7 separate regions of the Homo sapiens genome follow, and regions 2, 3, 4, 5, 6 and 7 are each linked to region 1. Evidence: promoter capture Hi-C in 16 types of primary human blood cells and fetal thymus (Javierre and others, 2016). All regions are on one chromosome and are shown on one strand. Each heading gives the region's core, a stretch centred on a gene start or on the middle of the fragment in contact. The rest is flanking DNA. Distances are from core to core; before and after follow the strand shown.

Region 1 (3,971 bases), core at 415-2,914:
AACTCCATCTTGAGAAAAAAAAAAAAAGAAGTTATGGGAAACCATCATATAACAGTACTAGAAGAGACTATTTCTCCCCAGTGCTCTCAGATCTCACCACCAGTTTTTCCTGGCCCTGGTCCTGCTATGACACAAGAAATCTTTTGCTCAAGGATAAGTCCTATAAATCAAAACTCCCACACATGGACATAAAATGAGACAGTGGCCAAATCTATGGGGTTGATAAGTCACTGCCACTCAGACATGCCTGAAATAATTAGAGAAGCATTAATTTCATTGTAGATTCTGGTGAGAGAATTTAGAAAAAGGCAGTGCAGCCCGGCCCTTGCACATGCTAAAGGTAAATGTTTTCTTCCTTGGTAAGTCTGGGTCCAGGCGAACAGGAACCAGAGCTGACCATAACTTTGATGACCAGGAACCGTCCACATCCACAGAACACTGGTTGCCACCACTCGCCAAACAAGTCTCTCTAGTTCCCTCATTTGCTCTATTTTTATCACTTGTCTCTTTTGTCTTTTTCTCATATCTGAGATGTAAGTGACTGTCGGCACTCTTTCTAAGCACTCTCCAAGCTTCCCTGAGGCTTGGAGGCTCATTTTTCCAGCTCGTGCACAGTGAAATAAAAAATATTCAGAGACTCTTCCCTGATAAGGTTTTGTTGTAAGACTGGGAGGAGCAGAGCTGGTGTGCTTTTGGGTGGCTTTATTTGTAATTGGAAAAGATTGGCCTTCATGGATGGTTAATCTATACCCAGGAGAGGCGTTTTCCTACTTTCTAGTTCTATAACTCACAGTCCTAAAAGGAGCAGAAGTTGATGGCATCAGGAGACCTGTGTTAAAATCCTGACTCTAAAAAGTTTATGATTGAGTCAACATACATTTGCAAAATACCACCAAGAAACCAGACTTTGGTGCTCAAAAATGGAAGACATAAACTCTGCTTTCAAGAAGCCTGCGGTCTCAGAAGGGTGTGGCAAATGCAGTATAATGGAGTGAAAGAACGGAGTGGACTTCATCCCAGGCACAGGAGGTGGCTGCGCCTGGCTAGGGGCTCCCAGCTTCCACCATGAGGTGGGATGCCAAGGTGTCTGCCCCTCTGGAGGACCTCGGCATCCAGAAGAGGCAGTTTCCTCCTAGAGGGTCACCCAACTCATGCAGGAGAATTCAGAAAATGATTGTTGAAGGAGGTAGCCCTTGAACTATAGAAGAGGTAGGGGTGAGTGACTTTCCAGGCAGGGAGGACAGCACAGACTCGGGCAGTGTCACCTATGAATTCATGTGCTCAATTACACTGTACATGCGAATCAGCTCTGGATCATTCATCCCTATGAGACCCTGATTCTTTGTCTGCAAAATGAAGACAACAACCCTTGCCTGGATACATAAAGAGTTGTGAGGATTCAATAAAGAATATAAAAGAGCTACACCAATTGGCAAGTCCTATTATTATGAAAGAGAAGTGTGGTACAGGACCTGTCAAGATTCAACCCAAGATAACAGTGCTATGTGGAGAAAGAATCTAGCCCTGGCTCTGCCACTAACCTCCCCACCACCATAGGCCTCAGCTTTCCTCATCTGTCCAATTAGTGGCTTGGAACCAGAAAGGCCAGAAGCCCTTCCTGCGCTGATATTTTATTTGTAAGTCCCCTTTAAATCCAACTGCCAGTAACTAGCACGTGGCTCCCGCCCCCAGACTGCTTCTTTATTCATTCCTAACCTTTACCTTGGCAGATGAAATATAAGATTCATCAACCACATTTGACAGCCCATGGCAGGTTTCCTGTTTTCCATCGTCCCTCTGCAGGTCACAGACACACAGAGCCCAGCCGTGGCAGGCTCAGCCGGGGTCCGGGGCTGCTAACAACGGCTACATTCCTCCCCCAGGGCCAAGGGAAATCCTGAGCGCAGGCCAGGGTTGTTTGGTTTTGAGGTGTGCTGGGATGAAAGGCACCCTGGAAGTGGAAGGTTCGGTCATTCATTAATTAATTACATCTATAATTGAGGGTTTGTTCTTAAGAGCGAGTCCTTTGAAAGTACTTTCCTTCAAACAGTGACTGCCACAAAGGCATCAGATATTCACCACCTTCTCGGCTGCCTCAGCACAGCAAGCTTTATTCTGGGACCTGAGATCCTGTTCTGAGCTGGCTTTCCCTTCTCCAGGCTCGCTCACCCTCCCTTTAGAGGTGGGGCTTATTGGGGGTGGAAAAAGGTGTGTGTATCTCTGTTGTTTAATGTCTGGTTTTTTGTTGCTGTTGTTGTTGTTTTGTTTTGGTTTTGGTTTTTGGTTTTTTTTAAGGAAATCTATACTACATCGAATATGCTTTCTTTTGGGTGGACTTTAACCTAACCCATTCCAGGTAAATGAACAATGGAAAAACTTCACGGCAAGATTAGAAAGATACCTGAGCCCAATACCCGCCTGATGTCGTGGGCCACACCTCCGGGTTACCAGGGGAAGGGAGGAAGCAAACTGTCATATTGATGTGGCTCTAAACAACAACAGTGTGCGAAGGCCCAGGGGCACTTTGGGATTGACCAAGAGGAAACACAAGTTGCACAATGATACAATCTTGTTGGTACAATTGTCAGAGAAGGGAACTCCCACAGCAAAGGCCATAAAACCATCCAGGGCAGTCTGGGGCGGCTCAGTTCTGCGGTGCCAGGGAGTGGAGCAGAGCTCAGCCCCGTCCCAAACACAGATGGGACCATGAACTCCGGACACAGCTTCAGCCAGACCCCCTCGGCCTCCTTCCATGGCGCCGGAGGTGGCTGGGGCCGGCCCAGGAGCTTCCCCAGGGCTCCCACCGTCCATGGCGGTGCGGGGGGAGCCCGCATCTCCCTGTCCTTCACCACGCGGAGCTGCCCACCCCCTGGAGGGTCTTGGGGTTCTGGAAGAAGCAGCCCCCTACTAGGCGGAAATGGGAAGGCCACCATGCAGAATCTCAACGACCGCCTGGCCTCCTACCTGGAGAAGGTTCGCGCCCTGGAGGAGGCCAACATGAAGCTGGAAAGCCGCATCCTGAAATGGCACCAGCAGAGAGATCCTGGCAGTAAGAAAGATTATTCCCAGTATGAGGAAAACATCACACACCTGCAGGAGCAGGTAAGATGCTGGGTGACCCTGGAGATCCAGATGGGGCTGCTTTGCCAGGGGACCCTCGGGAGGAAAAATGAGTCCAGAAGACAATTTCCAGGAAAATGGCATCAGCGCTTGAAGTAATTGTGCACAAAGGTTTTGGGGGATGTTTTCTTATTATATCTTAAATTTGGAGTGGGAAACGTCTGTTTTGTTTAATTAGTCTACTGTCCATGGATAATGTAGAAAAAGAAGGCAGCAAAAATGATAGAAGTGCTACAGACTGTTTCAAAAATGAGACTACTGATTTCTCACAGACCAAAAACATCTTTAAAATGTGAGGCAACCAGCTGCTGTTTAATGTCACTTATGACCCAACGATGTCATAGAAATGATAAGGGCTGGTGTTCATGCTGCATGCTCAGTGCACCAGGCATAAGAGAGTGTTTACTTTCTCATTACCTCAGTTCTGCTCCACCTCAAACTTTTTTGAACAATGTGGTTATCCATCGACAAAAGGCTGTTACACTATTTTGAAGATTATGCCTAAAAGTTGTCACCACACCAGCATATAGGTCATCATGACATCCCTAGATATTTCCGTTTGTGGGTTGCTTGCAGTAAAGTTGCTCACAGTTCTGACAATGGCATATTGCTAGAACCAATAATAATAAAATGAGCATAATTTTTAGAATCTGAGAGTTGAGATGGCTATAAAGACCTTGTTCAAAAAAAACCGAACTCTTTAACCAAACCTCAAAAAAGCTAAGCAAATACCTTCTGGGATGTCTCATAACATTAGCTAGAAGTAGAAGGAATCCAATCATCTCATAGGTTATGTTTTAAAGCTATCTAACTCCCCTCTTATATAAAGCAGTCCCAGAAAATTCCCTGTA
Region 2 (3,971 bases), core at 463-2,962, 750 kb before region 1:
TCCCAGCTACTCGGGAGGCCGAGGCACAATAATTATTTGAACCCGGGAAGAGGAGACTGCAGTGAGCCAAGATGGCGCCATTGCACTCCAGCCTGGGCGACAGAGCAAGACTATGTCTCAAAAAAAAAAAAAAAAGGATAATGACAGATTGTGAGAGGTGCCAAAAAGGAGGTAAACAGGGTGATGTGAAAGGGCCAGGCTCCTTCAGATGGGGTGGTCAGAGAAGGCCTCTGGGGAGGCAGCATTCTGGCTGACAGAGGGTAGGAAGGAGTCCACTGTGGGGCAGGGCATGTGCCCACCAGAAAACTCAGAAAAACTCTGAGGGAGGAAATGCTAGGTGTACCTGATATATATATGTGTATGTGTGTGTATATATATATATATGTATATGAGTGTGTGTATATATGTGTGTGTGTGTATTTGTGTATATATGTATATATATATGTATGTGTATATATATATATATATAGACAAGGTCTCACTCTGTCACCCAGACTGGCTGGAATGCAGTGGCATGATCATGGCTTACTGCAGCCTCAACTGCTTAAAGCAGTCCCCCTGCCTTGGCCTCCTAAAGTGCTGGGATTACAGGCAGGAGCCAGTGTGCCTGGCCTGATACTTTGTTTTGATTCTATATTTACTAAATAAACTTGATTAATAGTTTGGTTTCCTTGACATCAGGAAGGAGGAACCATGGCTAGGTCATGGGCATCCCAGTCTCATGGTCTTCCCCTTTTGAGAAGCTAAGGCCCCAGTCAGCCAACTTGGGAACCTTTACTATCAGGCAAAATTCACCCCCGACATTTCACGTAGGTTCTTCTCTATTTTCCTTAAGTGTTGGCTGGTCCGAGAAATAAAGGGACAGAGTACAAAAGAGAGAAATTTTAAAGCTGGGTGTCCGGGGGAGACATCACATGTCGGCAGGTTCCATGATGTCCCCCAAGCCGCAAAACCAGCGAGTTTTTATTAGTGATTTTCAAAAGGGGAGGGAGTGTACGAATAGGGTGTGGGTCACAGAGATCATGTGCTTCACAAGGTAATAAGATATCACAAGGCAAATGGAGGCAGGGCAAGACCACAGGACCACAGGACCGGGGCGAAATTAAAATTGCTAATGAAGTTTCAGACACACATTGTCATTGATGATATCTTATCAGGAGACAGGGTTTGAGAACAGACAACCGGTCTGACCAAAATTTATTAGGCGGGAATTTCCTCGTCCTAATAAGCCTGGGAGCGCTACAGGAGACCGGGGCTTATTTCATCCCTCAGCGATGACCGTAAAAGACAGCTGTCCCCAAAGTGGCCATTTCAGAGGCCTCCCTCAGGGACGCATCCTCTTTCTCAGGGATGTTCCTTGCTGAGAAAAAGAATTCAGCGATATTTCTCCCATTTGCTTTTGAAAGAAGAGAAATATGGCTCTGTTCTGCCCGGCTCACGGGCAGTCAGAGTTTAAAGTTATCTCCTTTGTTCCCTGAACATTGCTGTTATCCTGTTCTTTTTTCAAGGTGCCCAGATTTCATATTGTTCAAACACACAAGCTCTACAAACAATTTGTGCAGTTAATGCAATCATCACGGTCCTGAGGCTACATACATCCTCCTCAGCTTATGATGACAGGATTAAGAGATTAAAGTAAAGACAGGCATAGGAAATCCCAAGGGTATTGATTGGGGAAGTGATAAGTGTCCATGAAATCTTCACAATTTATGTTCAGAGATTGCAGTAAAGACAGGCGTAAGAAATTATAAAAGTATTAATTTGGGGAACTAATAAATATCCATTAAATCTTCACAATTTATGTTCTTCTGCCATGGCTTCAGCGGGTCCCTCTGTTGGGAGTCCCTGACATCCCACAACACTTTGCCCTGACGGACATTGTTCTGCTGGAAAGGGTTTTGGGAGAGAGTTTGAATGAATGAATTGGAGCTGTCCTTCCCAGTGTGCATGCAATATTTTGTCACACTAAAATATTTTTTGAGACAGAATCTCGCTTTGTCGTCCAGGCTGTAGTGAAGTGGTGCGATCTTGGCTCACCACAGCTTTCACCTCCTGAGTTCAAGCTATGCTTCTGCCTCAGCCTCCCAAGTAACTGAGATTACGGGCAGGTGCCACCATGCCCAGCTAATTTTTGTATTTTGGGTAGAGAAGGGGTTTTACAACATTGCCCAGGCTGGTCTTGAACTCCTGACCTCAAATGATCCGCCCGCCTTGGCCTCCCAAAGTGCTGGGATTACAGGTGTGAGCCACAACACCCGGCCAAGACTCAGTTCTTTTTTTTTTTTTTTTTTTGAGACAGGGTCTGGCTTTGTCACTTAGGCTGGAGTGCAATGGTGCCATTATAGCTTATTGCAGACTTGAACTCCTAGGCTCAAGTGATCCGTTTCAGCCTCCTGAGTAGCTGGGACTACAGGCATGTGCTACCATAGCCAGCTAATTTTTTAAATTTTTGGTAGAGATGAGGTCTCACTATGTTGCCCAGGCTGGTCTTGAACTGCTAGGCTCAAGTAATCCTTTACCTCGGCCTCCCAAAGTGCTGGGATTACAAGCATGAGCCACCGCACCAGGCCTGAGACTCAGTTCTTGACTTGCCACCAGCTTTGTGGGTGACCTGGTTTACCTCTTGGCTTCAGTTGTATGCCCCATAAAAGGAGCACTGGGTGATCTCTTCCTGGGTCTGAAGTCTGAAGCGCTGTTTTCCCAAGTTGGGAGCATTTCCAGAAGGGTCTTCCGAAGTCTACCTTCCAGTGTGGGAGGTTACCCCAGCCCCAGGAGCCTGAGGAGTAATCATGGAGGCAGGAGTAATTAGTTTGAAAGTGGCATGCATGCCTGCTGTTAATGCTGGCTTCTTTATTAGTGTGCTCCTGGCTTTGAGATGCTGTCACCTGGGCAGCCAAGGGCAGGGTACAAAGCACAGGCTCTGGAGTGTCTGTATCTGAATATCATCTCCATCTTGTTGCCTGGGCGACTTAGCCCCTCCCAGCCTGCATTTTCTCCTCTGTACGACAGAGACAATAATGCCCTTCTCATAGGCTGTTGAGGGGATTTAAAGAGGAGACTATGTACAGCCGGATAAAAATGTAAAGTTATGAAACCACTATATAGATTATACCAGTTTCCCAGAGGGGAAGGGAGAGAGAGAGCCTCCGAGAGCAGCAGGGGACAGGAGTGAGCCCCTCTGAATGAGGATGGGACAGAGGTGGGCACCTCTCCATGGTGATCTCCTTGGGATGTGACAAGGGCATGGCTGTGTAGGACACCTTGGGACCCTCGACCTCAATAAGATTCTCCAAGGCCACCAACGTGGCACGGAAGCAGCAGAATCTCCCTCCAGGAAGGGATTGCACCCTCTGGGAAAATAGACATCTCCATGGTAACCAAGGCAGATAGATGATCTGGTCTAGGGGCTCCTTGTAGCTCTGGTGCTCTAGAAAACCTTGTGAGCGAGAGAGAATCCTGGGGAGGGCTGGAGCCCCTGTCATTTCCAAGGCTGGATTTCTGAGCAGCCCAGTGGGATGTTAATTGGCAAGGATCTCACTTGATTTAAAGAAAGTCCAATTAATGCCACATTTCTTGCATTCCTTATTTGGGACTTAACGACCCACGTATGTAAGTGACTAGAATAGTTCCCCCTCCCCCGCTCCCATGCACATAGAAGGTCCCAGTGAATGAAGGCTGCTGTTCTTACCACTTGGAGAAGGAGGGAGACCCGGGCCTGTTGCAGCTTGATCTGCAGCCTGCACAGGGTAATGATGAGATGTGCAGGTCGGGCATCAGCTGGGGTTCTGCTGGCAATACATCAATTCTTCAAACCTGCCTAGGGTAGATGCTGGGAAGGGACATGGGGGAAACTTTTTTTTTTTTCTTTTTTGAGATGATATCTCACTCTGTCTCCCAGGCTGGAGTGTAGTGGTGCGATCTTGGCTCACTGGAACATCCGCCTTCCGGGTTCAAGTGATCCTCCCGCTTCA
Region 3 (3,971 bases), core at 642-3,141, 720 kb before region 1:
GGTGGTTTAAGGAGGTGGCGATGTAGGGAATGTGGGTTTGAAGGCCCTGGGCCCAGGTAACAGGATGAGTCCAAGCAGGGATTCCAAGTCTGCCGCAGGGACCCGCCCGGTGCCAGAGTCCCCTGACAGGGAAGCCCCCGCCTCTGCCCCACCACATCCTTCCCCTGAACGCGCGGCTGCAAAACCACACTGGAATTCCCGAGGGTCAGTGCCGAAGTGGTCCCAAACTGAGGAGGACACTATGCATGGGGACAGAGGAGGGGGCCATGGGGTAAGGGGGACAGGAAAGGCCATCACAGCAGGGCCCAGAGGGGAACTGACCCAGGCTGAGCAGGAGTCCCAAGGAAGGGCCCAGGTGCTGCCTGCCACCAGGACCCCCGCATTACAGAGGCCTCTCTTGCAACAAGAAAGCTTGGAACTCATAGAGGTGTCCAGAACCTCCACATTCCAAATGATGGTATCATTCTTGGGGCAGGAGGGAAAGGAGGCAGAGCCTGTTCCCCACTCTCACTTTCCCAGATGCCACAGGGACCCAGACTCCCTGTGTCTCTCATATCCCGAGACGCAGACCCTGTCAGGGAAGGGGCATGTGGCAGCGGGGCAGGCATGCCTGTGCCAGGCTGGGGCCACCAAGCACTGGTGGCAGCATAGACCTTGGGGTCTCTCTGTGCACAGCAGGGCCACCAGCAGGGCCAGGGCAAAGGTCTTCATGGTGTGGGAACTGCTCATTCTCGCTCTCTCTGGCCGGGCTGCAAGGCAAGTGGTCCCTTCCCCTGCCCCGCCATCTTTTGGCCTCACCTTCCTCCCTCCCCATGGAAGGCCCACACTCCTGTGTTCCTTGTGGCACTGCCTGGTCACAATCTCAAGTCCTCTTCCTTTCTTCCCTACCTGCACCCCCCACCCCCTAATTCAAGCCTCGGCGTCTCCACCCTCCCCAAGCCATCCCTGCCCCATCAACGAGGGCCAGCTCTATGCCCCTGATGACCTGCCAGCCTCCTGAGCCAGGCTGTGCACTCTCTGACTGCCAGGCCAGCCTCTGTCCTGCTTCCCCTACTTCCTGCTCAGAGCCGGTCATGCTGAGGCTGCGATGGAGACCTGGGAGCAGGAGGCAGCAGGGGATTCCTTGGGCTGTGGCTCTCATCATTGCTGAGAGAGGGAGAAAGGGCCCGGCCATTCCTGACCACAGCCCTGGGCTCCTGCACTCAGCCGGGCACTCACTGCATGCCAGCCTCAGACAGGGCAGTAGGGCCGCCTGGATGTGTACTGAGCCCTTCCAGCCAGGGCTTCAAGGCCGGGTCACAACTCCCGGCTCAGTGCCCAACTCCTCAACCCCTCAGCATCCACCTGCCCAGCTCATGACAGGGAGGACAAAACAAAGGAGGCCCCTGTGGGACTACACAGGCCAGCTCCTGACACTATATAGGTGGGGAAACTGGGGCCCAGAGAGGGGCGGTGACTTGTCCAAATTCATGGGCCCAGAGCTGGGCTCCTAGGCCTCTCTCCCGGGCGGCCTGAGTTAGGCCGTGGTGCCGTCAGTCCCGGAAGGTTGGGACACCCACGGCAGTACCTGACTTGCCGGGGCCCAGCCTCCAGCCCACAGCCCTGCTTTGAGCAGCAAGGGAGGCTGCCCCGCCCCCAGCGTCTCCTCCTGCCTGACTGAGTTTCCCAGAGCCAGCAGAAAGGCAGGGCCGATGCAGGTCTGAATCCGCCCAGGGATCTGGCAGTCCCAGCTGGCTTGCCCTGCCCTCGAGCCCTGGGAGCGGGAAGTGAGCCTCCCCACCTCAAATCCTCCACCTTCCCTGCCACCCACACCTTCAGCCCGGGGCCCAAACATGGCAGGGAGCCAGGCCCCTCACCTCCCTCCTTGGTAACCGAGGCAAACACCCAACACTGGAGACTGTTTGTCCTGCCAACGCTGCACCCCAACCTGAGCCCAGACGCCCTGCCGCAGTTGGGAGAAGCCTGGCTGGGGGAGGGGACGTGGCAGGGGCAGCCAGAACCTGTGGGCTTGGGGACCCTTCCCCTCCACTCCAGTTCCCCAGGAGCTTCTGAGTGAGCACAGGGCAGCGGGGCTGTTGTCTCAGCACCTTTGACTGTGAGGCCCCCAACCTCAGCCTCTGCTCCACCCCTAAGACTGTGCGCCCGGAAGGTGGAGAAGGGCTGGCTGGGGTGAGAGGGTCTGTGCTTGAACTACAGCAGAGAAAGAGAGCAGAGGGAGAAAGTTCTCTCTGGCCAGCCCAGCTGTGGGAGGGCTCAGGGAGGGAGGCCAGTGGGCCCTTTCTTTGCAGGCAGGGAGGGATGGGAGATTCTACCAGCGCCAGACCTGGGGGGCTCTGCCTCCTGATCCCCAGGGTCTGGGTGGGCACCGTGAGGCACTCCAGCGTCGCGTTTGGGGGCTGGCTGGGTGGGCAAGGAGGTGGATGTCAGGGCCTGGGGAGGCTGGGGTAAGGTGGCGCCAGGAGGGGACGGGCAGTTTTTCTGGCCTTCACTGGCCTGTGGTTTCCGCAGTGCAGGGCATGGGACTGTGGGGCGATGGAGCAAGGAGGATGGAGTTTCTGTCCCTGGGAAGCCTCTTGTCTGAGGGGAGACATGCCCCGAGCCTTCAGGGACCGCCTAGTCGGAGGGGGAGACACAGCCCTTGTCCTGGGGAGTTTGGAATAACCGTATTGGGGCCAGGGACAGAGGATGATGGAGTCACCCTGCTCTGCATGGAGCACGGGACCACCCGGCCTCACGGGGCTGGGCAGACGCTTCTGTTTCTTCTGCATGGAGCACGGGATCACCTGGCCTCATGGGGTTAGGCAGACGCTTCTGTTTCTTAGGAAGAGGTCTGTTTGCTTCTCAAATGCTTCCCGGGAACCTCCTCCACCACTGCAGCCCTGCACTGTGGGCAGGAATGTCACTAGCCCCCTTTTACGGATGAGGAAACTGAGGCTCAGGCATCTGGGAAAATGTGCTGTGGGCAGCCCCCCCGGACAGAGCTGTGCTGGCACCCTCCAGACAGTGCAGGAGAAGGGCAGGTCCCACAGAGTCCCTGCTGTTCCCCCAAGTCCTGAGGCCAGGGGGTGCTGTCTCTACTCTCAGTCCCCTGCCAGGACCTGTCCCCTGGTTCAATCCCAGGCAGGCCAGCGGGGAGGGTGGGGTGGGAGACTTGGTTCTGCTGAGGCTGCAGCTTCCCTGGCCCACCTAGGCTGAGTCAGGGCTGGGCAGGAGCCGAGGGCAGCAGCTTTCCCAGGGCCAGCCCGGGCGGCGTCCGCATTCCTCACTTGCAGGGTGCGTCTGGGCTTGGCTGAGCCAGGTGTGCTGTGCCCCACCCAGGCCCCCGCCTGCAGCTGAGCCAGCTCAGCGCTGGGGCCTTGTAAGGAAGCTTCTGGCAGCCACCAGGAACGGGGTGTGGGAACTGCTTGGCTTGCATGTCCTTGCTGGGTGGGGTGCAGGCTGGGGGAGATCAGCCTGCTAGAGCCCAAGCTCCCACAGTGGCCAGGGCAATTGGGGTGCCCACTCCTCACCCCCTCCTCACACTCTGCTCTTGCCTCTGCAGTTGGAGAGCTGGAGGCCGAGGCCCCAGGCAGTCTGTGGTTTGGAGCTTTGGTCTTGGTCATTGCTCAGTAGATGCTGGGGGCAGAATGAAGGATGTTCTGAGAGCTGAGGTGGTGGTGAGGGCCCCGCAGTGGCCAGGAAGCAGCAGAGGGACACGTTCTGTTTGCTGCCTCCAGCCTCTAAGGGATGCCTTTGTCCTAAGCAGCTTGGAGCTCTGTGCCAGATGGGGCCCTGGAGTAGAGGCTGTGAGTGCGGACTTGTGCCCATGGGGTGCCCATCTCTGGGGACTGCTGCTGACACCTTGCCACTTGGCCCTGTGTCCCCCACACCCCAGCTGGGCTGTCTGCACTGGCACCTGGGTCTGGAAGGGGTCTATATGGGGTTGGCCAAGGTCAGTCCTCACCACTTACTGCAGTGAAATTCTTCCCACA
Region 4 (3,971 bases), core at 852-3,351, 700 kb before region 1:
TCAGCCTCCCCAGTAGCTGGGACCACAGGCACCCGCCACCACGCCCGGCTAATTTTTTGTGTTTTTAGTAGAGACAGGGTTTCACTGTGTTAGCCAGGATGGTCTCCATCTCCTGACCTCGTGATCTGCCCACCTCGGCCTCCCAAAGTGCTGAGATTACAGGCTTGAGCCATCGCACCCAGCATATTTGGGGTTTATTATTCTGCCTACCACAGGCAGGGCAGGATGACTTCTCATGGCAGGGAGGCTTTGCCCAGCCAGCTTTTGGAGTCACCGAAGCTTTATTGAATCACTAGTTACTACAAGGCCTGTGACAGCTACATATTGACTCATTTAATCTCATGAAGAGTTTGTTACAAAAGTCTAGTCCTGGCTGGGCTTGGTGGCTCACACCCATAATCCCAGCACTTTGGGAGGCTGAGGTGGGTGGATCGCCTGAGGTCAGGAGTTTGAGACCAGCCTGGCCAACATGGTGAAACCCAGTCTCTACTAAAAATAGAAAAAATTAGCTGGGCGCGGTGGTGGGCACTTGTAATCCCAGCTACTCTGGAGACTGAGGCAGGAGAGTCGCTTGAACCCAGGAGGCGGAGGTTGCAGTGAGCCGAGATCAAGCCATTGCACTCCAGCCTGGGCAACAAGAGTGAAACTCCGTCTCAAAAAAAAAAAAAAAAGTCTAGTCCTTTCATTCTGCAGAGGAGGAGGGTTTGAGCCTAAAAGAAGAAAAATGACTTGCCCAAGTTGGGCAAGAGTCCAGATTTGACCCCAGGTTCTTGGACTTGGAGCTCTTTGCATGACATCATAGAGTGTGATCATAGCTAACACAATGCCTGACCCTGTGGTTGTGAAGATTAGAAACTCTGGTCCCTCTCCATGAAACTTTGCTGAAAAAAGTGCGTCAACCAGAAACACTCAATAACAAGGCTCCCAGGGACCCTGGGTTCTGAGGCAGAGATGGCAGGGACCACAGTGCTGCAGGAGTTTAGTGGAGGGAGCTTGCTCCTGGCTGGCTGGAGGGCAGCTCAGCTTCCTGGATGGAGGAAGCAGGCCTGTATGGCGGGCTGGGGCTCAGGCAGAACACTCCATGGAGCCCAGGCCTCTGCAAAGGAATGCTCCTGCCCTGTTCTCCTGTTTTGCCCTTGGAAAGGATAGATGATGGCTTGCTCTGGTCCTCGTTCCCTGGTCCTCCCTCCCCTAGTCCTCTCTCCCTTGGTTCTTCTCCCATAGCCCTTCCTCTGCTGGTCCTCCCTCCCCCAGTCCTCCTCCCCTGGTCCTCTTTCCCCTGGTCTTCCTACCCTAGTCCTCCCTCTCCTCATGCCCTTCCCCTGGTCCTCCTTCCGCTGGTCTTACCTACCTAGTCCTCCGTCCCCTCTTCCTCCTCCAGCAGTCCTCCCTGCCCTGGTCCTCCTCCCTCAGTGCTCCCTGCCCTGCTTCTCCTCCCTTGTTGGTCAGTCAGGTGTGTCACACTGTGGTGGGCTGGGTGGTCAACACCAGGACAAGGAGTTGAGAGACCCCCTTCACATCAGGGAGAAAGAGCTCCTATGTCAAGGGAGCCCCCAATCTGAGGGGGAGACATGGCTGCTACCTTGAGGAAGTGTCCAATTTAAGGGAAGAGACACAGTCTCTGTTTTGGGGAGCCTGGCCTCATCTGCCCCTGGAGAAAGCCACTCAAGAGCATTGCAGAGCAGGCGCGAATGAGCGCTCATCAACAGGGAGAAACCAGCCTCCCCAGGGCGCAGGGAGGGAGGAGCGAGCTGGTAGCTGGGTCGGGGAGGGAGGTGCAGCTGGGGGTTTGGGGTCTGCAGGGTGGGAAGGAGCCTGGAGTCCCCTTGGTGTCTCTGACTCCCATTTCCCCAGGCCCTCAGGTTGCCCTCAGCCAGGCTGCAGGGCAGAGTGGAGAGGGGGTGTGAGCCTGAAAGGGGAACCCACTGGAGTTTCTGCCTCTCACTCACCCCTATGCATCTCTCAGGCCAAGGAAGCGGTGGGGGAAGTGAAAAGAGGGAGGAAAAAGAGGGAGGGAAGGGCAGAGGGAGGGAAAGACAGAGGGAAGGACAGAGGGACGAAGCCGTCTGGTCAAGACTCCTCTCACAGGAGTCTTCACCCTGTGAGAGGCAGTGAGGTGTCCCACGGGTGACCCCCGAGGCCTGGGTTTCCTGTCCGTGATGTCCTCCCCACTCATTCCCACTGGTCCCCAGCCTTCCCTCCCTCCCTCCCTTGCTCTGTCCTCCCGCCCTGGGCCTCATCCGAGGCATTCAGTCCTCTAGGCCCTCTTTTGGGAAGGGCCCCTGGACAGCTGATGTGCTGCCTGGAAGGGTGGGGTGTTCCTGGGTGTCCGTATCCTACGTCTTGGATCCGCCACAGGCTGACAGTTCCTGGAAACCAGTCAGAGGTGAGTGAGGGGTGCAGAGGGGAAGAAAGGCTGGGTCCACTTACCCCTGGGTAGGGGAGCCCCTGGCCAAGCCCTGGGTATACAGGGGGTGCTGGGGGATCCCCTTACCTCTGTCTCTTCAAACTGGGGCAGAGGCTCAGGGCACCCAGCAATGTTCCGAATCTCCCAGGGCCCTGGGAAGGTGGAGGGTGGGAGGATCTGGGTGGGGCCGCCTGGGGCCTCAGGATAGAGGCAGGAAACAGAATAGAGGAAGCAGGATTCCACCTGTGGAGGCGGCAGGTGTGGCTGGGTGAGGGTGCACTTCTCAGGCGATGCTGGGCCAGGGGTGGGAGTGCCTGGGGGTGAGCGAGGGGCAGGAGATCTGTGACCTCCAAGGGCCCTGCAGGTGACAGGGGCTCTGTGTCTGAGGGGTGAATGGAAAGGACCCCAGTGGGTCTTAGTGACAGGGGACTAGGGGTGGAATGAGGGTCTCTGGGGTTCTCTCCTCATCAGCGAAGCCAAGGTCTCAGCTGGGAGCCCGTTCTGGGCTCCAGGGCCTCTCACTTTCCCTGACCACCTGATACTGACCCTTTTCCTTGAGGGGAAGGGTAGGTGGCCATGTCCCTTTCCTGGGACCTTGTCTCCTCCCCAGTCACTGCTCAGGCTCCATGACCCTAACAATTCAGCAAGCACTCACAGAGCACCTGCTGCATACAGCCCGCGCTGGTTCTGGGCAGGGGTGTGGGGTATGGGGTGGGCACCATCCTAAGGGTTGACAGTTAATCCTTGCGGGGGCTCGTAGGAGCCAAGGCCAGCTGGGCAGACGGGGCATGACCTTGTCTTTTTGTTTTTTCTTTTGTTTTTTTGAGATGGAGCCTCGCTCTGTTGCCCAGGCTGGAGGGCTGTGGGACGATCTCAGCTCACTGCAACCTCCACCTCCCGGGTTCAAGCGATTCTCCTGCCTCAGCCTCCTGACTACCTGGGATTACAGGTACTACCACGCCTGGCTTATTTTTGTATTTTCAGTAGAGTCGGGGTTTCACCATGTTGGCCAGGCTGGTCTCAAATTCCTGACCTCAAGTGATCTGCCTGCCTCGGCCTCCCAAAGTGTTGGGATTACAGGTGTGAGCCACTGATCCTGTCCAGACCTTGTCAACCTTGTCAATATCAATATGCATCTATTGGCTGGGCGTGGTGACTCACTCCTATAATCCCAGCACTTTGGGAGGCAGAGGCAGGAGGACTGCTTGAGCCCAGGAGCCTGAGACCAGCCTGGGTAATATAGTGAGACCCCATCTCTATTTAAAGTAAAAAAAAATGCATCTATTGAACATCTCCTTTCCATAGGGCCCCAGATCATTCTACGCCCTCTGCCTCCCCACAACATAGTAGGGGTGATATTAGGGGACACTGTCCCCAAACCCTAGCTCTGCTCAAATTCCAGGCAGGTCCTGTCTGTGCTGCGCTCTCCAGCATGCTGGCTTTTCTGCACTCTCTGCAGAGGAGACTGAGGGGGAGTCAAGGTGGGGCTGGCACCCAGGGCACTGGGGGAAGCTTCAAGTTCTCCCAGCCACCTCCCTGGGCCTCCCCCTCTCCCACCTGCGCT
Region 5 (3,971 bases), core at 114-2,613, 680 kb before region 1:
CTCCCTCATGAGGGTGGGGGATAAGTAAGGAAATCTTGTCCCATTTCAAACTCTCAAAGCTGAACATCTACATAGAAGCTTGGAAATTAGAGGGGAACTTTTGGGGGCATAGGCCTAATAATTAGATTTTATTTTGGAGAGTCCTTGGTCTAATGGGGGAGATAGAGTCTGATGGTGGAGGCAATACTGAGCAGATGAATAAAAATCATTTAGAGGGTCAGATAGAGCAGAGGGAGAACAAAGGAGGGGTCCTTGTGGGAAGTGGGGTCCCCTTGTGGGGGAAGGCTTGGGAGTGAGAGGTCAGGATGGGTCCAGATGCGCACATCCACATCCCCTTTTTCCATAGGAGATGAACGCCCTGCGAGGCCAGGTGGGTGGTGAGATCAATGTGGAGATGGACGCTGCCCCAGGCGTGGACCTGAGCCGCATCCTCAACGAGATGCGTGACCAGTATGAGAAGATGGCAGAGAAGAACCGCAAGGATGCCGAGGATTGGTTCTTCAGCAAGGTGGGGGGTGCTGCAGGCCAGAGGGCTCTCTTAGGGGCTGGGGCTCAGGGGCCTTAGCACTGACAGTAAGCCCACGGCCAGATGTCTTGGAGGTGCCCCTCCTCAGTAAGCTGCATGGACCACAGGGTCACCCACTGCATCAACAGACATGGAGCTGAGCTCAAGCTGGGATCTGGCGGGTGGGTGGGGAGGTAGGGAGCTCCCTCAGAATAAAGGCAGAGGGTAAAGACCTTGGGAGTCCCCACGTCTCCCTCAAGAAGTCAGGAACTAGCATCAAGAGCCAGGCTACATGTTCTGGCTTGTTCTCAAGTTTCCGGTCTGTGCCTCCCACACGCTGGGATTAACCATAAAAAGTTAACATTTCAAATGGCATGTTTCTGGGCTTTGGGATGTGGGAAGCTGGTGAGAAGGCACACTCTCTCCACAGTTAGATTTGGGAGGAGGCCTGACTTGGGAGAGGGATCCAGGCTCACACCGCCCTGTCCTGTGTCCTGTCTGCAGACAGAGGAACTGAACCGCGAGGTGGCCACCAACAGTGAGCTGGTGCAGAGTGGCAAGAGTGAGATCTCGGAGCTCCGGCGCACCATGCAGGCCTTGGAGATAGAGCTGCAGTCCCAGCTCAGCATGGTAGGAACAGTCCTGTGCATGGGGGAGGGCCCAGAAGAGGGCATTGACCATCCTCACTGACCCCTGGTCTTCCTGCCCTCCTGCAGAAAGCATCCCTGGAGGGCAACCTGGCGGAGACAGAGAACCGCTACTGCGTGCAGCTGTCCCAGATCCAGGGGCTGATTGGCAGCGTGGAGGAGCAGCTGGCCCAGCTTCGCTGCGAGATGGAGCAGCAGAACCAGGAATACAAAATCCTGCTGGATGTGAAGACGCGGCTGGAGCAGGAGATTGCCACCTACCGCCGCCTGCTGGAGGGAGAGGATGCCCAGTGAGTGGGGGCGCCTGGGGTCAGGGCTGGGGGTCTCTTGGCAGGGGTGGGGCTCTCAGACCCACATCTAATTTCCTCTCTGTTTTTTTTTTTCTTTCAGCCTGACTCAGTACAAGAAAGAACGTAAGTATCTGCGTGGCTTCGGCCCTGGGGGTTGGGTGCATGGGACAGGCAGCCCACCTGCACGTTGCTGGGGCAGGGTCCCCAGGAGCTCCAGGAGTTGATGGCTGTCCCTCAGCAGGGAGAAGTGACTCATTAGCACTGAGGATTGATACTCAGGAAAAGATCAAATGAGAGAGACACTGTCTGGTCTGATGGGGGTGGGGCAGGGAACTGGTCCTTACCTTGGAGATCCTAGTCTGATGGAGGAGACAGGTCCCAGCTCTGGAGATTGTCATCTGATGGGAAGATAGGAACATGGTCTCATGATCTTTGCTCTTGACAGCTTTTGGATGAGCAAAAACAGTCCTGTCTCTGGGGTCTGTAGCCTGATGGGAGATAGGGACATGGTCCTTGTCCTCCAAATTCCAATCTGATGGAGAATATATGATCCTAGCCTTAGGGTTCCTAGTCTAATGGAGGAGATAGGGGCCTGGTTTTTGTCTTGGCGATCCCAGTCTGATGGGGGAGATGGTAGAAAATCTATGTCCTAGAGACTGCAGAGAAATGGAGACGGATTTCATGGAGTCTACATGGCTCCTCCCTGGCAGGACACACTGGATCAGAATCAAATAACCCATCTGGGGAGGCAAGACTCACACAGGGCCACCGGCAGAGGGATGGGATGGAAGGGAGGTGGTGGCAGGGACAGGAGGGATGTGTGTGCAGTGTGATGTCGAGGTGCCAGTGGAGGCACTCACAGCACCTGGGGGAGGATGAGGGAGAGAGCCGGCTCCTGTCCATGAGGGCTAGGGGGCAAGCGAGGGCCTCCTGGCCCCTACCCACTTTAAATTGCCTGCTTCTCCTGCAGCGGTGACCACCCGTCAGGTGCGTACCATTGTGGAAGAGGTCCAGGATGGCAAGGTCATCTCCTCCCGCGAGCAGGTCCACCAGACCACCCGCTGAGGACTCAGCTACCCCGGCCGGCCACCCAGGAGGCAGGGAGGCAGCCGCCCCATCTGCCCCACAGTCTCCGGCCTCTCCAGCCTCAGCCCCCTGCTTCAGTCCCTTCCCCATGCTTCCTTGCCTGATGACAATAAAGCTTGTTGACTCAGCTATGAAATGTGTCCTTGTTCTGGCCCCTGAAGTGGGGACTAGGGACAAAAGGGTGAAATGGGAAGGAGTGAGGGTGAGGGGAGATGGTGCTTGGAGACCCACCGTTGTTGATTGGCAGGTCAGGGGTCAGCTTAGACCGGCATAAAGAGTAAGTCTGGGGAGAGTTTGGAAGGGGGTGCTTGCCTCTCCCAAGGGCTGGAGATTTTCAGGGGGTGGTCCAGGCTGCGCTAGACCTGGGGTGGAGTTGGTGTATCAGGTGCGGTCCTAGGTGGCCACTGCTTGCCCTGTGAGTAGCTCTGTGACCTCGAGAAGTTAGGCAGTCACTTCCCCTCACTGAGCCTTGCTTTCTCATCCATAAACGGATGGGAAGATCTCAGGTGTGGGAGCCTGAATCCTCAGAGATGACTCACTCAATCAGTTGTTCCTCCCGGTCCTGTGGGCCGTGCCCTACCCCTAGATGGGGCAGGAGGTGGGCAAGGGCTGGGATAAGCACAAAGGGAGGGTGGGTGGGGGAGGCAGGCTGGGTGGTTGGGGCCCAGACTCCTGTGTGAGTCTCAGGAAATCCCCAAGAGAGGCCCCCATTGCCTCCGCCCTGGGAATGTGAGTGGGAGGCTGGCGTTTTCAGGGAAGGCTACGGACCCCAGGCAGGTGTGGGAGAAAGGGTGGGGCCTCTCTCAGGGATGCTTCCTCACATGGTCAGCTGTTGCTCGGGATGGGGACGGGGTGGAGTGGGGGGGCACTGCAGATGGGGTGGCTGTGCCCAGGGAGCAGTGCCACTCTCCCTGGCAGTCTGGGTCCTCTTTGGTTCCCCACTAGGGACAGGGGTGGCGTGAGGGAGGGTAGAAACTGCCTCCTGGGAAAATGAGAAGGAACAGTCCTGCTCCAGCCACTCCCGGCACCCTCTGAGCTGACCAACCCCAGCTCTTGCTGGTGGCAGCAAACGTGGCTGTGGGGAACAGTCTGTGGGAGATGAGCCTGACACCTGGAAATCTTCCTTCTAGTAAATCCGGAAACTGCCAGGCGGGTTGGCCTGCTTTCCTGGTTTTCTTCAAGCAGGGGGTTCGTGGGAGGAGGAGGTTGCCTCCACCTCATCACTGCTGGACCTGCGGTGTCTCTGCTGCTGCGGAATCAGACCAGGGCCCCCAAACACCCTCTCTCTCCTCGTGCCTGGAGGCTGGGGGTTGGGCCCAGGCCTGAGGAAAATGGGAGTGACCAGAGCCCTCTGAGCCTGGGTTGGTGGGGGTTTGGGACTGGCAGAGGCCAGGGATGGGGGTGGGTACTGACCACTGGGGTATGGGTGACTTTGGGCTGGTC
Region 6 (3,971 bases), core at 540-3,039, 660 kb before region 1:
TATTTCCTTAGGCTAGATTCCTAGATGTATACTAGATGAGAAGATACAGATGTTTTAAGATTCTCGATTTGAATGGCCAAATTGATTTAAAGAGAAATTGTGCCAATTTGCATATCTTGCCAGCAGGGAATGGGAGTGCCTATTTCAAAACATGCTCATCAACTGTGAGTATTATCTTTAAAAACCTCTTTGGTAAATTGATTCAGCTGATTCTTTTAAAGATGATGTTGTGGAAGGACCCTTACACAGAGACATAGTCCTGGCCTGGGTTACTAAACAACTCCTGGGCTGGCACACACTTTCATGAGTTGTTCATTAATGAGATGTCAGAACAGAGGATGTAGAATACCCTCCAACTGGGCATGCGGTGCTATTTTATTTTATTTTATTTATTTATTTATTTATTTTTTGAGACAAAGTCTCACTGTCACCCAGGCTGGAATGCAATGGTGCGATCTCAGCTCACTGCAACCTTTGTTTCCCAGGTTCAAGCAATTCTCATACCTCAGCCTCCTGAGTAGCTGGGACTACAGGTGTGTGCCACCACACTCAGCTAATTTTTTTTTTTTTTTTTTGTATTTTTAGTAGAGACAGGATTTCACCATGTTGGCCAGACTAGTCTCAAACTCCTGGCCTCAAGTGATCTGCCTGCCTTGGCCTCCCAGAGTGCTGGGATTACAGGCGTAAGCCACCATGCCCAGCCTGGGCATGGGTGCTATTTTAAAGAAGTTGTCTGTACCCGTATCTTCCGAGTGCCTAACCCCCAGGAGCAGATCCTTGGAAAGCTCATCACGAAAGGCCTCTACCTGACAGATGCAGAAATTCAGGTTTACAGTAGTTAAAGGAAAATTAAAAAAAAAACTTTCTTGGGGTCTCACAGTCACTTAGCAAAACTCCCGGAGAGCAGAAATCACTTATCTCTTCTTCATTGCTGTTATCTTGTAGAAACAAATCATGAGCCCCTTTTAAACAGAAGGACAATATTGTGCAGAAATATGAGTTTTCCCTTCAATAAGGGAACCAGAATTTCCATCTGGAAATGGCTTGCTGCCTGGATTTCTCAAACTATGATTCAAGCCCCAAATCAGACTGCCTTTTGCTCTTGCCTGGTCTTTCCCACTTCCTAAGATCCTGGCACCTGAGCTGAGAAGGTTGAGAACTCCCAGTGTTCCTTGAAATCTGTCTAATTTGAAGGTACCTTCAGATTCCTTATGCTTGACTTACTGTCAAAGTTCGGCAAATATTGTTTTAGATAATTGCATGAGGTGCAAAAACAATGACTAGAGTGAGAATTAATGGCAGCCCATAAAGTGCATCTGCTGTTGTAAATGAATGAGTGGTATGCTTGTAAAGCTCTGCTTTCTTTGGGTCCATTGTTTCTGAGAGCTCTAATAAGCTCAGTGTCCCTCCTAGTGTATGAGATAAGCAATTTCTTGTGCTTGTCTTTTCACTGCTGTAGCTTGTTGTTTAAGACCTTCTGTCTGCTCCCCGAAACATAAACAGTAATGAAACTTTTGTTTTGCTAGTTACCAACAGCCCCTGGATGGTACCCAGCCCATAAAGGACACTCAGTAAAGACTTGTGGAGTCAGGCCGTGGAGGTTTGGTTTAGAAGTCTCTGCTCTTTCAGGACTCCACAGAACTTGCTCAGAAGAATTTCTTGAGGGCAGGCTTCTCTGGGTTCCATGTGCTTCTCATTGTGTTGGCACAGGGAGGTCTCCATGGGTAGGTATTGACAAGCTGGCATGGATGTGAAAGCAAATATCTTCTTGAGCCCTGGAGGGATGGAGCCCCATCTACAGAACTGAGGCATGAGGCAGTGGAGCTCCTTATCTGGCCCCTCCTCTGATGTGCTGTCTGCATCCTGGAATCCCCAACAGTCCAAGACCCCCGAAGGGCTTTGAGCAGATCAAGGGGTGTTAAAGCAATAGTGGCAGCTATCCAGGAGACGCCATTTCTGACTTCACCCCTAGTTAACACACTGTTGATTGCAAGGGTCCCTCTTTCTCCTACCATGTTAGGATTGTTACACATAAAACTCATGCGTCGGCCTGGTGCTGTGGCTCACGCCTGTAATCCCAGCACTTTGGGAGGCCTAGGAGGGAGGATCACCTCAGGTCAGGTGTTTGAGAGCAGTCTGGCCAACATGGTGAAACTCCATCTCTACCAAAAAATACAAAAATTAGACAGGCGTGGTGGTGCGTGCCCATAGCCCCACTACTTGGGAGGCTGAGGTGGGAGAATCGCTTGAATCAAGGAGGTGGAGGTTGCAGTGAGCCGAGAGTGTGCCACTGCACTCTAGCCTGGGTGACAGAGTGAGACCCTGTCTCAAACAACAACAACAAAAAACAACAGAAAAAATCCCATACGTCTCTAGCTTTTATCTACCATATGAATAGTGTGACGAAACAAAAGGAAATATAGAAAATGAAAACACTCATCCATTGTTCTGTCACCAGACCTTTTATTCTACCAGGTTCTTTTCCAGCTTTGTTATATGTGATTATACAGCAAAGATGACTTTCAAATTATTTAAGGGACTTCACTTAATTTTAAATTAATAGAAATAACAGACCAGTATAAAAAGGCATATGTGCAAAGATATTTACTGCTGTTTATTTGTAGTGACAGAAGGTGGCAAACACATTTTTAAAAGTTGATAGTGGACAGGTGGAATAAATAATGGTCCACTGCTACCCTGGAGTATTAAGCAGCCATTATAGTCAATAAATTGGAGCTATTTATTGGATGGCAAGGAGGGATTCCTCCAGGGATTGGAGAGAGAGAAATGTGGAATGCAGAAATGTACATGTAGGATATTGATTTCACTTATGTGAAATAAACAGCCAACCCCTCATCCCTCATTTATGTAAATGCATGTGCATGTGTCTGTGAGATTATATAAGCACCAACAATATGAAAAGATACATACAGAGTTATGAACATAGATTACTGTGGGGGTGGGGTTGAAGGCTGATGTGGGTGGCAGTGGTTGAGGGGAAAAGGGGAGCCAAGAAAAACAGGAAAGGAACAAAAAGAGTGCACACACATTTTAATACATGTGCATAAAATTGTGTGTGTGTGTGTATATGAATAAAGAAACTAAACAACAATTTAAGAACCAAAGAATCAATTAATTTGTTGAATACCACATCGACTTCCTAATTAGAAACAGATTGCATGCACTAATATTCTGGCCTGTCAATTTTATGTGATCATAAAATAGATTTTTAATTTACTTTATGCTTAGATAATAATATAACTATACAAATTAAAACTGATAACCAAGAGAAAACATTTTTTAAAAAGATCAGATCACAGTCCTTTGCAGGAGGTAGTGTCGAATAGCTGGGGGGAGGGCAGAGGCTAACCTGAAGCTGAACTTCCAGCGTGAACTTGGAGGGATCCTCCACCCGCCCCTGGTCTCTGTGAGTTTCATTTTCCTCATCCGTACATTTAGGGTATTAGTATTTATCTGAAGGAGTTCATTTGAGGAATAGAGGAGATAAAGGGTGGATAAAACACACAGTATGTACCCAATAAACATTTTTTGTTGCTTCCCTCTCCTGTTTGACAATTTTTAATGTTGCCCAACCCTTTATTGCCTGATTTGATTCTGGCAGCAAGGCTGCAGACAGGCAGCTGTGTTCTGCTTCCTAAAGATGAGCTGGAGCAAATGCCTTCTCCCTGCATGCTCCCTGCAAGGCCTCCTCGCTATCTCCACACACCTGACTCATCCCATTTTACAGGTGAGGAAATTGAGGCTCAGGGAGGCTGAGCGACTTACTCAAGGGTGCGTGACCAGTAGGTGGGGTGTCAGAATGCCCTGCACCCCCAACCCTGTGCCGCCTCTGCATAGATCTTCCCTGGTGAGAAGATCCCTGGTCTTGTTTGACTTGATCAGGCTTGCAGAGAAGGTGGGTGCTAGCAGTAGGCCAGTGAATTCAGTCCAAGTCCACTTAGAGGCTGTTC
Region 7 (3,971 bases), core at 770-3,269, 620 kb before region 1:
CCAAGAGTTTTGCCTGGCTGGTCACAGAAGTCAGAGATTTGAAGTCTGGGAAGATTTCAATGTGCCCTTGCTGGTTGAAGATGAAAGGGGGTCATGGAACAAGGAATGTGGATGGGCTCTAGGAGCTGAGAGCCAGCAAGAAAAAGGAGATTGCAGTCCTCCAGCTGCAAAGACCTGAAGTTTTCCAAGATCAAAGAAGAATTTGGAAGCAGATTACCCCCAGATGAGAATTCAGATGAGAGCTTAGCCTGGCTGACATCTTGATTTCACCCTTGTGATATCCTGCAGAGAGAATCCAATTACGCCTGTGGAACTGTCAGCTAATACATGGGTGCTATTTTAAGCTGCTGAGTTTGCAGTAATTTGTTAAGCAGAAATAGAAAGCAAATACAGACCCCGTCTCTAGATGGAGGTGTGTCCATGTCACGTTGAAGAACAGCATATGCAATGGGATATATTGATGTGGTCATTTTTGGAAAACACAAATTGCCACAGGCTGGCTCAAATCACTGGCAGAGGGGTTATGTAAGAGTACACTTAGGGAATGAAGTGACACAGAAACCCAGGGGGATTCAAGATCCTGGAATTTGTGGATATGGGAGCAGGCAGGTCATCAGTGTCTCTGGGTCAAAGGTGGCTCTAGCAAGACACCTGAGCAGTGAGAGTCTGTGATCTCTTTTCTAGCGCTCCGCTGTTAATATGCAACTGTTTACTCTTCTCTGGTTCTTTTTCTGCTACCTGCTGTCTTCCTCATCTACCATTTTACATATCTTTTTATTTATTTTATTTATTATTATTATTATTTTTTGAGACGGAGTCTCACTCTGTCGTCCAGGCTGAAATGCAGTGGCACGATCTCAGCTCAATCCAACCTCTACCTCCCGGGTTCAAGCGATTTTCTGCCTCAGTCTCCTGAGTAGCTGGAACTACAGGCACCTGCCACCACGCTGAGCTAATTTTTGTATTTTTAGTAAAGACGGGGGTTTCACCATGTTGGCCAGACTGGTCTTGAACTCTTGATCTCAGGTGATCCACTTGCCTCGGCCTCCCAAAGTGCTGGGATTACAGGTGTGAGCCACAAGGCCTGGCCCATTTTATGTATCTTTTCTCTACCTCAATTTGGGAAATTCTCCACCTTAAGTGTGAAGCTCCCCAAGGGAGAGGTCAGAAACTTGCTTTTCCGAGCTCACCTGCATCTAGGGCATGGGCCCCTGACAGCCCTGCCACTCAGGTGCGCCCGCACAAGACGTTTTTTTTTTTTTTTTAACCATGGCACCCCATTGGAGTGAAGGACTTTGATTTTGATTTAAAGGAGGTGCTGAGTGGAATTTTTTATGGCAGGAACAAGGTTGGGCAGAGATATGTGATTTTTTGAGGAAGCAATAGCAGCGGCTCTGGCAAAGACATGCAGTGCCCATCATCCATAGTTTGAGCTTCAATTTTGGTGGCCAGAAGTGACAGCAGTGGTGTGTTCCTAGAGCAATCCTTGAGTGTGATTTGGGGAATTTTTCTGTTTGCATACCCTCCAAGTTTGATTCTCTGCACATCCTGGAAAAGATGCCCAGTAGTTGCTCATTATTTCACAGGGAATACATTCAAAGATCCTGACTGGATGCCCAAAACTGTGGATAGCACCTAAATCTATCTACACTATGCTTTTTCCTACACATTCATACTTAAGATACAGTTTACTTTATAAATTAGGCAGACCAAGAGATTAACAACAATAACTAATAAAATAGAATCGTTATAACAATATACTGTAATAAAAATTATTTGAATGTGGTCTCTCTCTTTCAAAATATCTTATCATACTGTAGATCTTAGCAACCTCAGCGTATGGTTTTTTTCTTTCCGTAGTAAGTTTTGAACTGTCATCTTTTCTCTTAAAGAAAGCATTTTGCTGGCTGGGCGCGGTGGCTCATGCCTGTGATCCCAGCACTTTGGGAGGCCAAGGCTGGAGGATCACCTGAGGTCAGGAGTTTGAGACCAGCCTGACCAGTATGGAGAAACACTGTCTCTTCCAAAAATACAAAATTAGCCAGGCATGGTGGCGCATGCCTGTAATCTCAGGTACTTGGGAGGCTGAGGCAGGAGAATCGCTTGAACCCGGGAGGCAGAGGTTGAGGTAAACCGAGATCACGCCATTGTGCTCCAGCCTGGGAAACAAGAGCAAAACTCCTTTTAAGAAAAAAAAAAAAGCACTTTGTGGCTTCCCTTTGGCAAATCTGAATTATCAGCATCACTGCTCTTGCACTTTGGGGTCGTAATTAAGTAAAATAAGGGAACACAAGCACGGCAATACTGCAACAGTTGATCTGACAACTGAGACAGCTACTAAGCGACGACTAGTGGGTGGGTGGTGCATAGAGCATGGAGAGCTGGACAAAGGGATGATTCCTGTCCTGGGCTGGACAGAGTGGGGCAGTGTGAGATTTCATCATGCTCTTCAGGGCAGCACACTTCAAAACTGACAAATTGTTTATTTCTGGAATTTTCCATTTAATATTTTTGGATGACAGTTGACCACAGGTAACTGAAGCTGTGGAAAGCGAAACCATGGATAAGGGGAATGACCGTGTTGCTTTCTCTGCAGGTGAAAGCATATTTATTCTGGTACTCTTTGTTTATTGGGATAAAGAAAAAAGAATTTCCCACAGCAGGTGCCAGGGTCAATGGTGATCTGCTTTAGAAAAGGGACACAATCTGGATCAACGACTGCTGTTGGAACAACCATGTGATAAATTGTAAAATAATTCATGGCTATTCTCTAACATCTGTTCATGTTCTGCACAGAAAAACTAGGCAAGTTAACCCTAAATTTATCATTTTTTTTTTGAGACAGGGTCTCTCTCTGTTGCCCAGGCCGGTGGGCAGTGGTACAATCACAGTTCACTGAAGCCTTGACCTCCCAGGTTCAAGCAATCCTCCTACCTCAGGCTCCCAAGTAGCTGGGACTACAAGCGTGTGCCACCACGCCAGACTAATTTTTGAGGTTTTTTTTTTTTTTTTTTTTTTTTTTAAACTAGAGACAGGGATCTCACTCTATTGCCAGGGCTGATCTTACATTCCTGTGTTCTCTCCCCATCTTGCCCTTCCAAAGTGCAGGGATTACAGGCATGAGCCACCACTCCTGGCCCATCAAATCTTTCATGTGGCACTAATCTCTGTCATTCCCTTAGAGATGTAGTGTTGCTGGTCCTTTTTCTAAACCACGTAATCCTTACTGGTAAGGATCAGGATCCTTTTACTGACTATGTCTAGTCCACTCCAGACACTGGGAAATAACCACAGGATTGGTCTGGGATACCACTGGGCTCATGAGAAGCAAACTTGGGCTAAAACTCCATTTGTCATCTGATCTCTATATTGGTTAGATTCTCAATTGCAACTACCAGAAACTACTTTGCCTATTTTAACAAGTAAGGGATTTTCAAGAGCTCTAGATACCTTAGAGAATCATTAGGAGGGCTGGAGAAACAGAATCTAGGGTGATTTTTCCAGAACCCTCCAAATGACAAAGCAGAGTGGATCTGCCAAAGGAGTTGTTGCCTCTGCCAAGACCATGAAACCACCAAGTCAGATTGGAGCCTTCTGAGTCCATTCTGCACTAATTCTGGACTCAGCTGGAGTTGCAGAGCCACGCTGCTTCTGCTGTCCATACCAGTAAGCTGGATGTCCCAGGTGAACCTCATTTCCTCACCTACTTCCCTTCTAAACCAAGTCCACATGGGTGCGTCTGACTAGTAGAACCTAAATTGCTCAGCTCATCTTAGTGGCAAGGGAGGCTGGTAAATGTAGTTTTTAGATCTCCCTGGAAAAGAATAGTGACAAGATGACAGATACAACCTACACTCACATGAGCTTCCATTCTAACTGGGGAACCACAGTATTGCTCTGCATTTTCAGAGATTAGAATTGGTTTGGAGCCAGCGTCCAATCATCCCTAAAGGCCTGGGTATTTTCCTTCC

The links. Contacts are between HindIII fragments. The CHiCAGO score rates a contact against its expected background, and 5 or more counts as called.
Region 2: a fragment that was not itself captured here is called in contact with the fragment with the promoter of KRT23 in region 1 in 1 of 17 cell types (M1 macrophages); the score reaches 5.8 in M1 macrophages.
Region 3: a contact is called between a fragment that was not itself captured here and the fragment with the promoter of KRT23 in region 1, in 12 of 17 cell types (naive CD4 T cells, activated CD4 T cells, non-activated CD4 T cells and 9 more). The highest score is 11.2, in naive CD4 T cells.
Region 4: a contact is called between a fragment that was not itself captured here and the fragment with the promoter of KRT23 in region 1, in 10 of 17 cell types (non-activated CD4 T cells, total CD4 T cells, activated CD4 T cells and 7 more). The highest score is 14.2, in non-activated CD4 T cells.
Region 5: a contact is called between a fragment that was not itself captured here and the fragment with the promoter of KRT23 in region 1, in 3 of 17 cell types (total CD8 T cells, naive CD4 T cells and activated CD4 T cells). The highest score is 7.9, in total CD8 T cells.
Region 6: a contact is called between a fragment that was not itself captured here and the fragment with the promoter of KRT23 in region 1, in 1 of 17 cell types (total CD8 T cells). The highest score is 6.2, in total CD8 T cells.
Region 7: a contact is called between a fragment that was not itself captured here and the fragment with the promoter of KRT23 in region 1, in 8 of 17 cell types (naive CD4 T cells, naive CD8 T cells, non-activated CD4 T cells and 5 more). The highest score is 10.7, in naive CD4 T cells.

The regions. Positions count from the first base shown.
Region 1 is chr17:40,935,339-40,939,309 of GRCh38, reverse strand. KRT23 (keratin 23) reads left to right here and starts at 1,664. Exons shown (of 9, transcript NM_015515.5): 1 at 1,664-1,964; 2 at 2,357-3,102. The coding sequence starts at 2,707. The region is part of intron 1 of LOC107985072 (a long non-coding RNA gene); the gene reads right to left. The HindIII fragment of the contact is 1,536 bases long and covers 575-2,110 here.
Region 2 is chr17:41,683,223-41,687,193 of GRCh38, reverse strand. No RefSeq gene overlaps it. Among named protein-coding and RNA genes, the nearest start is that of EIF1, 3.7 kb to the left of the region's middle. The HindIII fragment of the contact is 6,365 bases long and covers 1-3,971 here.
Region 3 is chr17:41,653,604-41,657,574 of GRCh38, reverse strand. LOC124904004 (a long non-coding RNA gene) reads left to right here and starts at 2,441. Exons shown (of 2, transcript XR_007065756.1): 1 at 2,441-3,971. RefSeq lists enhancers at 2,630-3,326, 3,327-3,971. The HindIII fragment of the contact is 2,956 bases long and covers 414-3,369 here.
Region 4 is chr17:41,637,102-41,641,072 of GRCh38, reverse strand. It overlaps the pseudogene KRT42P. Among named protein-coding and RNA genes, the nearest start is that of KRT17, 15 kb to the right of the region's middle. The HindIII fragment of the contact is 3,640 bases long and covers 282-3,921 here.
Region 5 is chr17:41,618,130-41,622,100 of GRCh38, reverse strand. It overlaps KRT17 (keratin 17), which reads left to right. Exons shown (of 8, transcript NM_000422.3): 4 at 347-508; 5 at 1,010-1,135; 6 at 1,222-1,442; 7 at 1,543-1,565; 8 at 2,413-2,659. The coding sequence ends at 2,507. Among named protein-coding and RNA genes, the nearest start is that of KRT17, 4.5 kb to the left of the region's middle. The HindIII fragment of the contact is 2,565 bases long and covers 81-2,645 here.
Region 6 is chr17:41,600,116-41,604,086 of GRCh38, reverse strand. No RefSeq gene overlaps it. Among named protein-coding and RNA genes, the nearest start is that of KRT16, 11 kb to the left of the region's middle. The HindIII fragment of the contact is 9,356 bases long and covers 1-3,971 here.
Region 7 is chr17:41,560,164-41,564,134 of GRCh38, reverse strand. No RefSeq gene overlaps it. Among named protein-coding and RNA genes, the nearest start is that of LINC00974, 7.7 kb to the right of the region's middle. The HindIII fragment of the contact is 7,476 bases long and covers 1-3,971 here.